Regions from separate parts of the Homo sapiens genome. Here region 1 is linked to region 2. The links are contacts of gene promoters, found by promoter capture Hi-C in blood cells and fetal thymus (Javierre and others, 2016). All regions are on one chromosome and are shown on one strand. Each heading gives the region's core, a stretch centred on a gene start or on the middle of the fragment in contact. The rest is flanking DNA. Distances are from core to core; before and after follow the strand shown. Region 1 overlaps AKAP1 (A-kinase anchoring protein 1). Region 2 holds the start of DYNLL2 (dynein light chain LC8-type 2).

Region 1 (5,951 bases), core at 2,810-5,309, 960 kb before region 2:
CCTCAGGCATCAAGGGGCTTCCAACAAAGGCACTTTCCAGATTATAGTCCAGACCCAGAGTCTTAGCCCCGGTGGTTGAGGGCGTGCTGGTCACTGATACTGCTCAGCCAGGCCATAGCTCCATAGGGCACAGTGGGGACACCCTATCTGGTGTCTTAGACTATGAAAGCATTGTCAGAGGGAAGAGGACTGGCAAAATCTTGGGTAAATGACTTAGCCTCAATTTTCACCCCAGAACATGGGAATGGTACCTGTCTTTGATGCTGGCTGTGAGAATTACATAAACCTAAGATCTGGTGTGTAGAGGGTGGCGAAATGGCAGCTGTTTATGGCTAGGAATTTTATATTTGTAGGTGATAGTTCATCCCATCCCACTCCCTCCCCAGGTTTGCCCCTTCTGATCTCCTTCTTGCTTGTCTTAAGCGATTTGCATGCGTTAGAAATACTACAGTCTAGCTGGAGTCGGCTTAGAGGGAGCACTGGGGCAAGATCTTTGTTTTGCTTCTTTTATTGCTGTTGCCCCTCCTTCCTCTCTGCTTCTGTCCATCTAAGCGATCTGTCCAGACCCAGCTGAAACTTTCTCCTTCGTAAGATTTTCCCGGATCTTCCTTGGTAAACCCCTGTCTCTCCCATCCTTGCCACTGCTTGCCTTGGGTATGGTGTTCTATGTAACTTTTGTAATCCAGCAAAGCTGAATGCTGCCGCAGCGCCTTGCCCACTCTGAGTGGCTGGCCTTATTGGGCTGTGTGGCCAACTGCCTGGGTTTGATTCCCACCTTCACCACTTGGGAGCTGGTTGACCTTCAGGAATCCACCTTTGCCTCAGTGTTCTCTCCTGTAAAGTGGGGATAGCACTTGGTGTTACTAATTTTGTGGAAGAACACATATGCTCTGCACTGCCAGCATCCGAGTTGGTGGGGGTGGGGGTGGTGCTGCTGCTGGTGGTATTGGTGGTGGTGTTAGTGGTGAAGTTTCTGTCCATCTGTTGTCTGTGCTGCACCAGTGGGCAACATGCAGTAGCGGCCCTTAGTTTATCCACTGGGAGTCATATGGAGGCCTAGGCTCTGTCTCTGACCTGGGTGGATCTCCCCAGTGCAGTTCTCAAGTTCCACAGCATCTGAAGCATTCTACTTGGAATGCACCTGAAACTTGTGTACATGACAAGGGTGCCTTGCCTCAGTGAGAGCCTAAATGCCGCTTTTCCTTTTCCTCCTGAAGACGATGACCAGTTTTCACCGGAAGCAGATGCCGCCATGAGCGAGATGACGGGGAATACAGCACTGCTTGCTCAGGTGTGTGGTTGGCAGGGGTGGGGGAGGCAGGCTGGCTGGGTTCTTGGGAACTGACCTTTCAATGCCTTCTTTCCTGTGGCTTGGCCCTGGATTGACCAGCAGTATTTAAGGAAAGGTGCATGAAGTAGCTAATACTTGATATTAGTCTGTTCTCACATTGCTGTAAAGAAATACCTGGGACTGAATAATCTATAAAGGAAAGAGGTGTAATTGACTCACAATTCTGCGGGCCTGGGGAGACCTCAGGAAACTTACAATCATGGCAGAAAGGGAAGAGGCACGTCTTACATGATGGGCAGGCAAGAGACAGTATGTGAAGGAGGAACTGTCAGATACTTATAAAACCATCAGATCTCATGAGAACTCACTATGACGAGAACAGCATGGGCACACCGCCTCATGATCCAATCACCTCCCACCAGGTCTCTCCCTCGACACATGGGGATTATGGAGATGACAATTCAAGATGATATTTGAGTGGGGACACAAAACCTAACCATATTATTCTTTCCACCCCCCTTCTTCAGGTGACAAGTTACAGTCCAACTGGTCTTCCTCTGATTCAGCTGTGGAGTGTGGTTGGAGATGAAGTAAGTTCTGCCCTTCTTTTCCTTCTGTGTTGCTGGCCCGAAGTAATGGATTGATTAGGAGCTGGTCCTGGGATTTGTTTCCTCTTGAGTTAATCAGAGGATATAACTGTAGACAAGCACCTCCTAGGGAACACTTTGGATGTCCTGATTGGCAGTGGTGATGTCAGTGTCCTCTAGTGGGTAGAGGCCAAGGATGCCACTAAACATCCCATAGTATTCAGGACAGCCCCCCACAGCAAATAATTATCCAACCGCAAATGTCAATAGCGCCAAGGTGGAGAAACCCTGTGCGAGACTTTCTGGGACCTTCTGTCTGTTGAGTTTTTCTGTCCTCTATCTTATGGTATGAAAGCTTAGATTTCTTCAGCATATTAAAAAGCCTATCCTGGCCAGGTACAGTGGCTCACCCCTGTAATCCCAGCACTTTGGGAGGCCGAGACGGGCAGATCACTTGAGGTCAGGAGTTTGAGACCAGCCTGGCCAACATGGCGAAACCCCCATCTCTACTAAAAATGCAAAAATCTGCTGGGTGTGGTGATGCACACCTGTGATCCCAGCTGCTTGGGAGGCTGAGGCAGGAGAATCACTTGAACCTGGGAGACGGAGGTTGCAGTGAACCAACATTGTGCCACTGCACTCCAGCCTGGGTGACAGAGCAAGACTCTGTCTCAAAAAACAAAAACAAAAACAAAAAAACCCTATCCTTATGCCACAGCAGCCAACAGAATACTTAAATAAATGTTCCTGTTGGCTAGAGCATAAGCCATGTCCCCCACCCTGTTACTCTTTTTTTTTTTTTTTTTTTTGAGACAGTCTTGCTCTTGTTATCCAGGCTGGAGTGCAGTGGCGTGATCTTGGCTCACTGTAACCTCCGCCTCCGGGGTTCAAGCGATTCTGCTTCAGCCTCAGTAACTGGGATTACAGGTGCCTGCCACCACACCTGGCTAATTTTTGTATGTTTAATAGAGACGGGGTTTCACCATGTTGGCCAGGCTGGTCTCGAACTCCTGACCTCAGGTGATCCACCTGCCTCAGCCTCCCAAAATGCTAGGATTACAGGCATGAGCCACTGCGTCTGGCCTACACTGTTACTCTCATACATCTGTTGCCTGCAGTGGCAACCGGGGAGGGGAGAACTCATGTTGGCTAGGGAGATGGCCCCAGGATGCCATGGACAAAAGCTTTAAGGGAACTTTCTTTTCTAGGTGGTGTTGATAAACCGGTCCCTGGTGGAGCGAGGCCTTGCCCAGTGGGTAGACAGCTACTACACAAGCCTTTGACCCCCATGCTGCTTCCTGAGAGTCTTTTTTTGCACTGTTGAAATTGGGCTTGGCACTCAAGTCAAAGATGAACATCGGAATAACAAACATTGTCCTCTCCAGAAAGTCCTTTCTTTCTCCATACTGTAGTCCTATTGAGAAGACATTTCGTCTCTGAGAAAAAAGGATGGAACTATGGGTTCTCTTCGCAAAGCCAAAGGATAGTGTTTAACAAGCCAGCTGGCTTATGCTGGTTCTCAGCTGTTTAAAAAAAAAAAAAAAAAGGAATAGAAACAGTTTCAACCAGATTGTCCTATTCCCCCTGTTCCATTCCCCTCTTCTTCCTTCTATCTCCTTCCCCGGCAAAAACCAAACAAACTGGCAGACAGGCCAGGGATGTATGTTGCTTGCTTGAGAGGGTTTCTTTTACTTCAAAATCTTTCTTCAGGGAGCAAGACATGAACTGACTAATTGGTATCCACTACTTGTACAGCTTACATAAATGAGTTGATGATATTTAACCAGTTTTTATAAACTTCATTTAGGTCTCTAAACACAGACTTTTTAAATTGCAACTGTAAATATGAAATGGTCATCACATCTGACCTTGGTCAGTGGGGAGGGGAACTGGTATCCTGCCAAGCCTGGTTGTAATTTGTAACCATTTTCTATTTGTGCAAACTCTGTAAATATGTGTTTAAACAAATGTAATATTTTGTACAAGATACACTGGAGAACAAAGGGAACTCAAGATTCTTCCAGCCACATGTCACCTGTAGGTAGAAGTAAACTCTGCAGTGCAGCTTCTGCTCTTGGCCCCTCTGGCCAGGGCCCCTGTGGCTTCCTGCACACTGGACAGGTGACTGTATGGTAGAGACTGTGATCTGGGAACTTTTTGCTGTACAAATCTGTTTAAAAAAAAAAAAAAGTAACTCATTGAATTAACTTGCAGTGGTGTGTTTGATTCTTTTTTAGACTGGCTTCAGCATTGTGCAGTTTAAAAATAAGTAAGTAACTTACATAAATCTTCAATTGTATGAACTGCAGCTTTGAGTCCATTTTTTTCCAGTGGTGAAGAATTGGCGGGGGGGGGGTGGTGAGTGTGGCGAGCTGGATCACAGGCCCCACACAACTGCCTCTGCAGGAGACCCATGGTTTTTTGAAGACAATTTGGCCAGAAATTTCTATCTGGCCTTTTCCTCTCTCTCCTTGTCCCACCAGGTGGCAGCCAAGCGTCCTCCGACTTCTTCACTGCATGTTAACTGGCCAGACTCAGTTTAAAGCACTGGCTTCCAAAACGGGTTGTGCCTTCTTTGGTTGTCATTCTTAATAGATTCGTGAAGTTATTTAATTTACTGTAGTGATAAGAATGATGTAAAAAATACATGTAAGTTATGGGATGAGATACTGCCTCAATTTAATAGCCCCTGCTCTTAAAGAAGGCTGGCCACTGCAGCCCAGGCCTACCCCAGTGCCCCGCCCCTGCCCCCTACGTTTGAGGCCTCTGGCTGCAGGGCTGTTGAGCTTGAGCTCTAGTTTTTAGAGAGCTGACGTAGCCTGAGGGTCATTCTGATTGGAGATATCCTCCCACCGCACACCCACTCCTGGGAGCTCCTCCCAGTTCCAACCCAGCTGGCTTGTTCTTTCCGTCTCTGTCCTGGCCAAGCCTGAGCTGTGGCCATTGTCAGGTGCCCATCTTCCCCTCCATCCAGGTTCTCGCCTGTGTGGTTAACAGCCTCTGTTTCCCTCATCTGTAAGATGAGATAACCTCATAAGGCAATTTAATCATGGAAATGCCCTCTGCTTCTACAGTGCTTGGTCCCAGGGAGCTCCCCTGCAGTTCCTTAGCCACTATTGGCTTTAAGTCCTGGCAGGAATTGGGTGTGACTTTGGCCAGGTCACCATACACCCAGGTCTAAGCTTTTCCTCTATAATCCAGCATTGCTGGAGCATGAAAAGGTCTACGGAAGCCTTCCGACTAACTTAGGGAATGCTCACAGAGCCTGGTGTGCAGATTTAGCTTTTATCTCCAGGGAACCATTGAGGGGTTTCAAACATTAAAACATGCTTCTGGTGCAGGGAGAAGGGTGGGTGAGGTGGAGGTGTAGACATGAGAAAAAAGGGATTCCCCTGGGATGGAGCCTGGGACAGACAAGACGTGATGAAGTCAGGATCCTCAGATAAAGCCCCTTGGGCTTTGATGAGTGGGATGGGCTGCTACCCGGGACTCCCACGCCTTAGAGTCCTACCCTGCAAGGGTGCCTCCATTAAACTCGGTTTGGAATGCTGGAGGAAGAGCAAGTTGGAGGCTGGTGAAGGACTTGTACTCCTCGAATAAATGCTTCTCAGATTGTTGCCTTTGATTAATTTCCAGAGTTCTGAAAAACTTGACTTTTAACCATTTTGCCAGAAATCTCATTGTTCTTAAGGAGGAGCAGATTTATGAAGGTCCTCGCTCCATCCCTCTGCAAGTCAGCTGCCCGGGCAAGTGCATTTGAGACGCCCTCTTTTAATTACCTGTGGGGCATCCAGGGGATGTCTTGGTGTGAATTGGAAACTCACGGGAGAAGCCAGTGCTGGCAAGAGATCTGGCAATCTGCCCAGGGTGTAGGGGAGAGGGGTGGAATGCTGGATGCAGGAGGCTAGAGCTTCCACCCTGTTCTCATTATAGGCATTGGTGTCAGTACTGCCCCTCTGGTCTCTGGGGCATCACCATGGAGGCTGGGTTTTAGGGTTACTGCTATACCTTGTACAACTTCAGGTATGCCACTTGTAGACATCAACATCTGTCAGACGATAACTAATGTCAGT
Region 2 (5,930 bases), core at 2,688-5,187:
TTTTCAGTCATTAATGGGCACAATTAGTTTATAGAATGTTTACAGAGAACTTCCCATGTTTCAGGAACTATGCTAGGTCCTGCAGCCACACATAAGTAAGACGTGATTCTCACCTGAAAGGAACTACAGACAAACATAAGACTGACATATTTAATGGTAAGTGGTCAGTGAAAACTCCTGGATGTTACAGAGCACAGAAGAGGGGTATGCATTCCCTCTGGGGTTCAGGGGCTTGGTAGATGACATCCAAAGGAGTCAGCCAGGAAAAAAGCTCCAAGCCTCACAGGCAAGAGAGCCACATGAGCTCAGGTGTGGAATCTGCATGTAGGGAAACGACAGGCGGTGGATGGTGTTACTAGAGCAGGAAGAACGAGATGGAAAGTGTGGGGACATAAGGCAGAGAAGCAGGTGTGCACGTGTGGAGGTTAAGTTATGGGAAAGGAGTTAGTGTTTATTCTGAGCAGGAAAGAGGGGCGTGCCTGAGGAGATCTGCATTTTAGATAGATCACAGCAGTGTAGATCTAAGGCAGAGGAGCCAAGAATGGAGACAGAGAACCAACTGGAAGAGATGATGAGTGTCTGACGCAGGGGATTCATAATGAGAAGGAAGGCATGGATTGGAAAAATATCCAAGAGATGAGCAGTGATGGAGACATGGTGGGTGAGGGAGAGACACAAATCTAGGGTTTCTGGCTTGTGCCTGGGTGGATAATGGGGCCATAAACTGAGATAGGAAATACAGGGAAGGGGAACAAGTCTGGGACAGAGATGTTGGCGATGGCTAACATTTATTAATCACATATATGAACCAGGCACTGTGCCAGGACTTCTTCATGCATTTTCTCTTAACTCCATGAAGTGGATATGATTCTCAATTTATAGATGAGGAAAATGAAATTTGGAAATGTTGAATAGCTTAGCCAAATCTGCACAGCTGGTAGAGTGGTGGAAAAAGGTCAGAATCCATGCATTCTGGCCCACTGCTTTATATGTGTGTATGCGAAGAGTCTGAAGAGCCTGTGGGGCATCCACAGTGGAGAGGTCCAGGCATTAGGGGGTCATCGGGGCCCAGATCATGGTAAAAACCATGAATGTGGGTGAAATTTCTAAGTTGAGCAGTGAAGGAAGCAAAGAGCCCTGGGGAACCCCGAAGTTAAAGAAGTAGCCAGATGGAAAGGGGTCCACCAAAGAGCCAAAAACAATAGTCTGATTTTGATTTTTAAGTCAGAAGACATGACCATGTTATCTGGGCAACAGGAAACTGGGCAATCACAAACAGTGTAGCTGTATCAAATAAAAACATTCACCAAGTTAAGCTAACATATTAATTATAACAGTGACTATGTTGCATAGTAATTATCCTGAACAGTAAGCATTTTACACAAATAGCAGTAATTAGTATATCACAAGTTTCCCAAACTGTGTCCTGTGGAATAGTAGTTCCTGGAGATGTTAATAAATGTTTGGATTAAAAAAAGGGCTTTGGAGTCAGATAAGTTTAAGGAATACTGGTATAATTTAGATAGAGGGCCAAACTCTGTTTTACACTTTCTCTCCTCTTTTCTCTGTTAGGATGCAGTATAGTATAATGGCTAAGATTGTAGGCAGTGGAAACAATCTGGAGTTGAATCCTGCCGCTGACAAACTGGATAATCTTGGGTCAGTTACTGAACTTCTCTAAACTGTAGTTTGCTCATCTGTACAGGGTGATAGTCATATATGCACTTCAAAAGGCAGCTTCTGGGATTAAATGGAACGCATTGCATTTAAAACACTTAGAATAGAGCCTGACATAGAGCAAGGGATTCATGAGGATTACTTATTATTATTTATAAACCATACTATTAACACATCTCCCTGTTATTCTACAGTTTAGTCCTTGACACACACACACACACACACAAGAGCACTGATATTCACATTTCCTAAAAGTGAAAACCCGTGGCTCTGACTTCTGTTAGTTGAAGTTCTTCGTGCCCTTCTGTCCACCACACCACAGCCTGGAAATGAGCAAGCTCTTATCCCTATTATACTTCAGGGAAGGGGAGCAGGGAGAGGGAGGATTTATGCCCTGGCAGCATGGCCTTTGAAGGGCCACTGCTAGCTCATAGTAACCCTTGGGAACACTTGAAAGAAGTCATCTTCTGGTTGGACACTGGCTTGTACCGTGACACACAGGCTAGCAAGCAGTGTGCCGGCTGTATTTTAGCACCCGCTTGCTCCATCGGTTGGATACTCTTGCGCAGTGAATGACCTGTGCAACCATACGTGGCAGATCTGACCTTCAGGCCCTGGAAGGGCCTGGAAACTAAGGACTGTTGGAGAAAGGGGGTACTAGCTTCGCTTTCTCCAGGCAGTCCAGGCGATTAGCCCCGCACAAGCCCTAAGTGTATAAATCATCCTTCCTCGTCTCCCTCCCTTCCTCCCATAGAGGCCACGCCTCCCATTCATGAACACAAAGACTGACATCAGAAAACCCTTAGTGTGAGGGGATACCCCAGGCCTTAACTGGTCTCTGAAATCCCCCAACTGAGGTTGTTAGAGGACAGAACTGTGGAAAGCAGTAACCAGAGGGAATGATTTTTCCAGGTTTCCCCTGACACATAACGAACACTAACTTTTGATGCTTCAAACCAGAGCAGGCCAGGGCCAGGGCAAGTCTGACTTCCTGACCATGGTTTGGAGAGGCGAAGGGGAAAAGATGGGAGTGGGAGCTATCCCCGGCAGCTTCTTAATCCCTACTGTATGGCCAAAATGCTTGGTTCCCAATAAAGGCTCGTCAGCCCTTGAGGTAGACACTTCTGTATAAAACAGACCAGAAAGAAAACCGCAGGCCTGAGGATCTTTCCTGGGAGTGGGATGGAGTGAGGGCAGGCAGGCTCCCAACGCGCACGTTCACACCCACTCTCCCAGAAGTAGTCTCTTGAGCCTCCAGAGGGGCTGCTTCCTGGGTGCACCTCTTTTCAGCTAGAAGCAAGTCAAGCCTGACCTGCGGGATCTGGCAGGGCTCTCTGTACTTGGATTCTCTCCTTTATAAAGTGAGGGGTGTGGATGGGTGGTTTTTGAAGGCTCCTCACAGCTCTGACAGGCACCACCTCTGGGGGCTTCTATTCACTCTCCTCCAACCTTGTCTACCTGGACAGGCAGGGACAGACGACAAGAAATCGCTCACTCTCACCCCCATCCCAGGACCCCAAGGCCATAAATGTGCAAGGACAGCAGAGGCCTGCGTACCAAAGACACATCCCCATCAATTTTGCTTCGGCTCTGTCTCCATTGCTCCTGTAGACAAATACCGGCTGGGGGCCCAGCTGGGAGTTTAGGTCCTTCAGCCTCAAAGAACAAAGGAGGAAGAAGGGACCTTCCCGGAAGGTGAGGGGAGGGAGTCCTGGGGCTCCTATGCCTCTCCCTCTCCATAGGGCTGGCTGTCCCTCTCTTTCTCACAGATACGGGAGGAGGGAGTGTCCTGTCTTTTCCTCTGAGGCTGGTGACTTCATCTCCTCCCCTCTCTAAGGTTGGGGTCTCTACCTCAGCCCCATCTGTTCCCTGGGTCTGAAATCTCCATCCCCCTCTCCCTTTTTTCTCCTTGGGACTGGGGGTCTCCACACCCTTCCCTCTCCTCCTCTCTCAGGACCATGTCTCTTTATTCCTTTTCAGGCCTGGCCTCTCCAGCCCCGGGGGGAGGGGTCCGCATTCCTCTCCTTTCTTAAGGCCACGGCTCCCTCCCCCACCCGCTCCAGCTCCTCCTCCCCACCCCCTCCCTCCGCCCCGAGGCATTGTGGGAGGAAACAAGATGTGGGGCGAGAGCGGCGCGGGGAGAAGCCCGCAGTGCGGGGCCGGGCGGGCTCAGCCAATGGGGAGCGCGGACGGCGGCGCGCGCGGCGGGGGGGCGGGGGCGGGGCACTATTTCAGCGGGGGCCGCGCGTCGGCCGCGCTCAGCGGCAGAGCGGAGCGGAGCTGTGAGGCGCCAGTGCGGAGCGGGCGGGCGGGCGGGCGGCGTGAGGCGGAGCGCGGGCGGCCGGCGAAACTCCAAGGGCGGACCGCGGCAGGGAGCGATCGGCCTCGGGCTGCGGGAGCCGGAGACCGCGGCGGCGGCGGCTGCTGCAGCTGCAGGAGGAGCCCAGGGAACACCGCCCCTGCCTGTGCTCTGCCTCGGGCCATCGCTCCTCCCCAGGGCCCAGTGCGGACTCGCCTCCGTGAAGGTGAGCGGTGGGTGGGGGCGTCCCCCGGGTGGCGGGCCTGTGTCCGTCGCGTGCGACTCTACACGACCCGGCCCTCGCCGCGGTGGCCCTGCGGCCTCCTTAGCCGGCCCCAAGGCCTGGAACAGGGCTGGCCCCGCAGCCCTTGGCGTTGACGGTCCGGGCAGCGCAGCGCGCCCCCGCCGCCCCTCCCTCTCGGCGCAGCCCGGGCTGCGCCACCCTTTGCCCCGGCCACCCTCGTGGCGCTGCTGGAGGCCCGGGCTGCGGAGCTGCCGCTGCCCCCGCCCCCGGGAGTCTCTCTGCGCTGCGTGGAGGCCCCTGATGTCAGGGGCCGGGGAAGAGGGGGTGGAGAGGGCTCGGGCGTGACGCGGCTCCTCCTGCCGCCACCGCCACCCTCTGGGGCGTCCTTCCTGCAGCGAGGACGCCCAGTCACTCCGGCGCTGTTCCAGGCCGGGTGGGGGAGGGCGGCCGACCGGCCGGGGCCTGCGGACCTGGCCGGCGGCGCGGGCGGGAGGTCGGGGGGAAGGAGGATGCTTCCTCGTTCCCCAGGTGCTGCCCTTCGGGACCGCAGCGCTCTGGAGGATGGGATAGTGGAGGGATACGGCCCACTTGGAGAGCCCGAAGAGGGAAGTAGAAGTGTGTGTGTATTGGCGGGTGGGGATGGTGGTCCGTGTCATTCGGAGATTTAGCCTTTTTTTTTGGTTGCAAAACCAGGAATAGAGGATGGGAGCTGTCCTGGGGTGCCCTTTGTGCTTTTCACAGGAGCCTTGGCTCGTGACTGAGGCTGCTGGCCTGGGGCCCTCTGGCCATCTTCCTCCTATCTGGAGGCCCAGGTCCCTTGCTTTTTCCCAAGGAGGGAGGGGCTAGGCTGGACACCTTCCTGTGCTTTGCTTACCGGCACCTTGGACAGGGGTGGTAGGGGTTGGGCTTCACCTCTCTCAGATGCCTGGGGGGCCATTGTAGTCGTAAGACCAATATTATGTAACCGCAGGCTCTTTCCTGGAGAGTAAGGTGGCTTTTAATTACTGTAACAAAGTTGCTCCTTTGGACTTTGGGAATGAGGCAGTGGAGCAGGTGAGCTTGCAGGCAAAATGGTGCCAATTTCATACTTTCACTTTGCTGTCTAACCAGGCCCCACCCCCACCCCTGGGTTTGTAAACAGTGCCCCCTTCTGAGTGGTAACCTGGAATAGGCCACCAGGTGACACTAGTTTTTCTTCACTTATACAGAGCCTTATAATGTAAGAACCTTTCTCCCTGTGCTGCTGTTGTACCTTTGCTCAGACCCATTTGAGTTTACCCCATTTATCTCATTTCAACCATTAGTATTTAAAATGAAGATGTTGATTTGCCCAAGGTCACGTAACTAGTCATTCCTTGAACAGGGTTCTCCGAATCTTTCCTCAGCACCACATGGTGCTCACAGACTCCAGTTGAGGCTCTGACTTTTCCTCTCCAGAATGTGGGGGCAGAGGGTGCTGGTCTACTACCTCTTTGCTCTGCCAGTTTCTGCCGAAGTGGAACCAGCCCTGCTTAGTTTGGCAGTGCTATCTAGATGAAGGGGCCTTGGATGCGGTCAAGGGCTGCCTGGCTGGCAGCTGGCATGTGTGCATTCTCTGCATGTGGTGCAGGCTGAAATGGTGGTGGTGAGTTCTGTTTTCCCTTTCAGCCATCTAGCCCACAGGCTATTGTGAACTCCGAGATCAAGGTGGCCTGGAATGATACCAAGGAT

Evidence for each region. Contacts are between HindIII fragments. The CHiCAGO score rates a contact against its expected background, and 5 or more counts as called.
Region 1: a fragment that was not itself captured here is called in contact with the fragment with the promoter of DYNLL2 in region 2 in 1 of 17 cell types (naive B cells); the score reaches 5.0 in naive B cells.

Annotation. Positions count from the first base shown.
Region 1 is chr17:57,117,164-57,123,114 of GRCh38, forward strand. It overlaps AKAP1 (A-kinase anchoring protein 1), which reads left to right. Exons shown (of 11, transcript NM_003488.4): 9 at 1,218-1,291; 10 at 1,819-1,881; 11 at 3,087-4,181. The coding sequence ends at 3,161. Among named protein-coding and RNA genes, the nearest start is that of AKAP1, 35 kb to the left of the region's middle. The HindIII fragment of the contact is 1,998 bases long and covers 3,061-5,058 here.
Region 2 is chr17:58,079,482-58,085,411 of GRCh38, forward strand. It overlaps DYNLL2 (dynein light chain LC8-type 2), which reads left to right and starts at 3,938. Exons shown (of 3, transcript NM_080677.3): 1 at 3,938-4,202. DYNLL2-DT (DYNLL2 divergent transcript) reads right to left here and starts at 3,723. Exons shown (of 3, transcript NR_110809.1): 1 at 3,235-3,723; 2 at 1-3,135. RefSeq lists an enhancer at 3,667-3,961 and silencers at 3,678-4,027, 4,038-4,097, 4,138-4,557, 4,598-4,727. The HindIII fragment of the contact is 13,862 bases long and covers 1-5,930 here.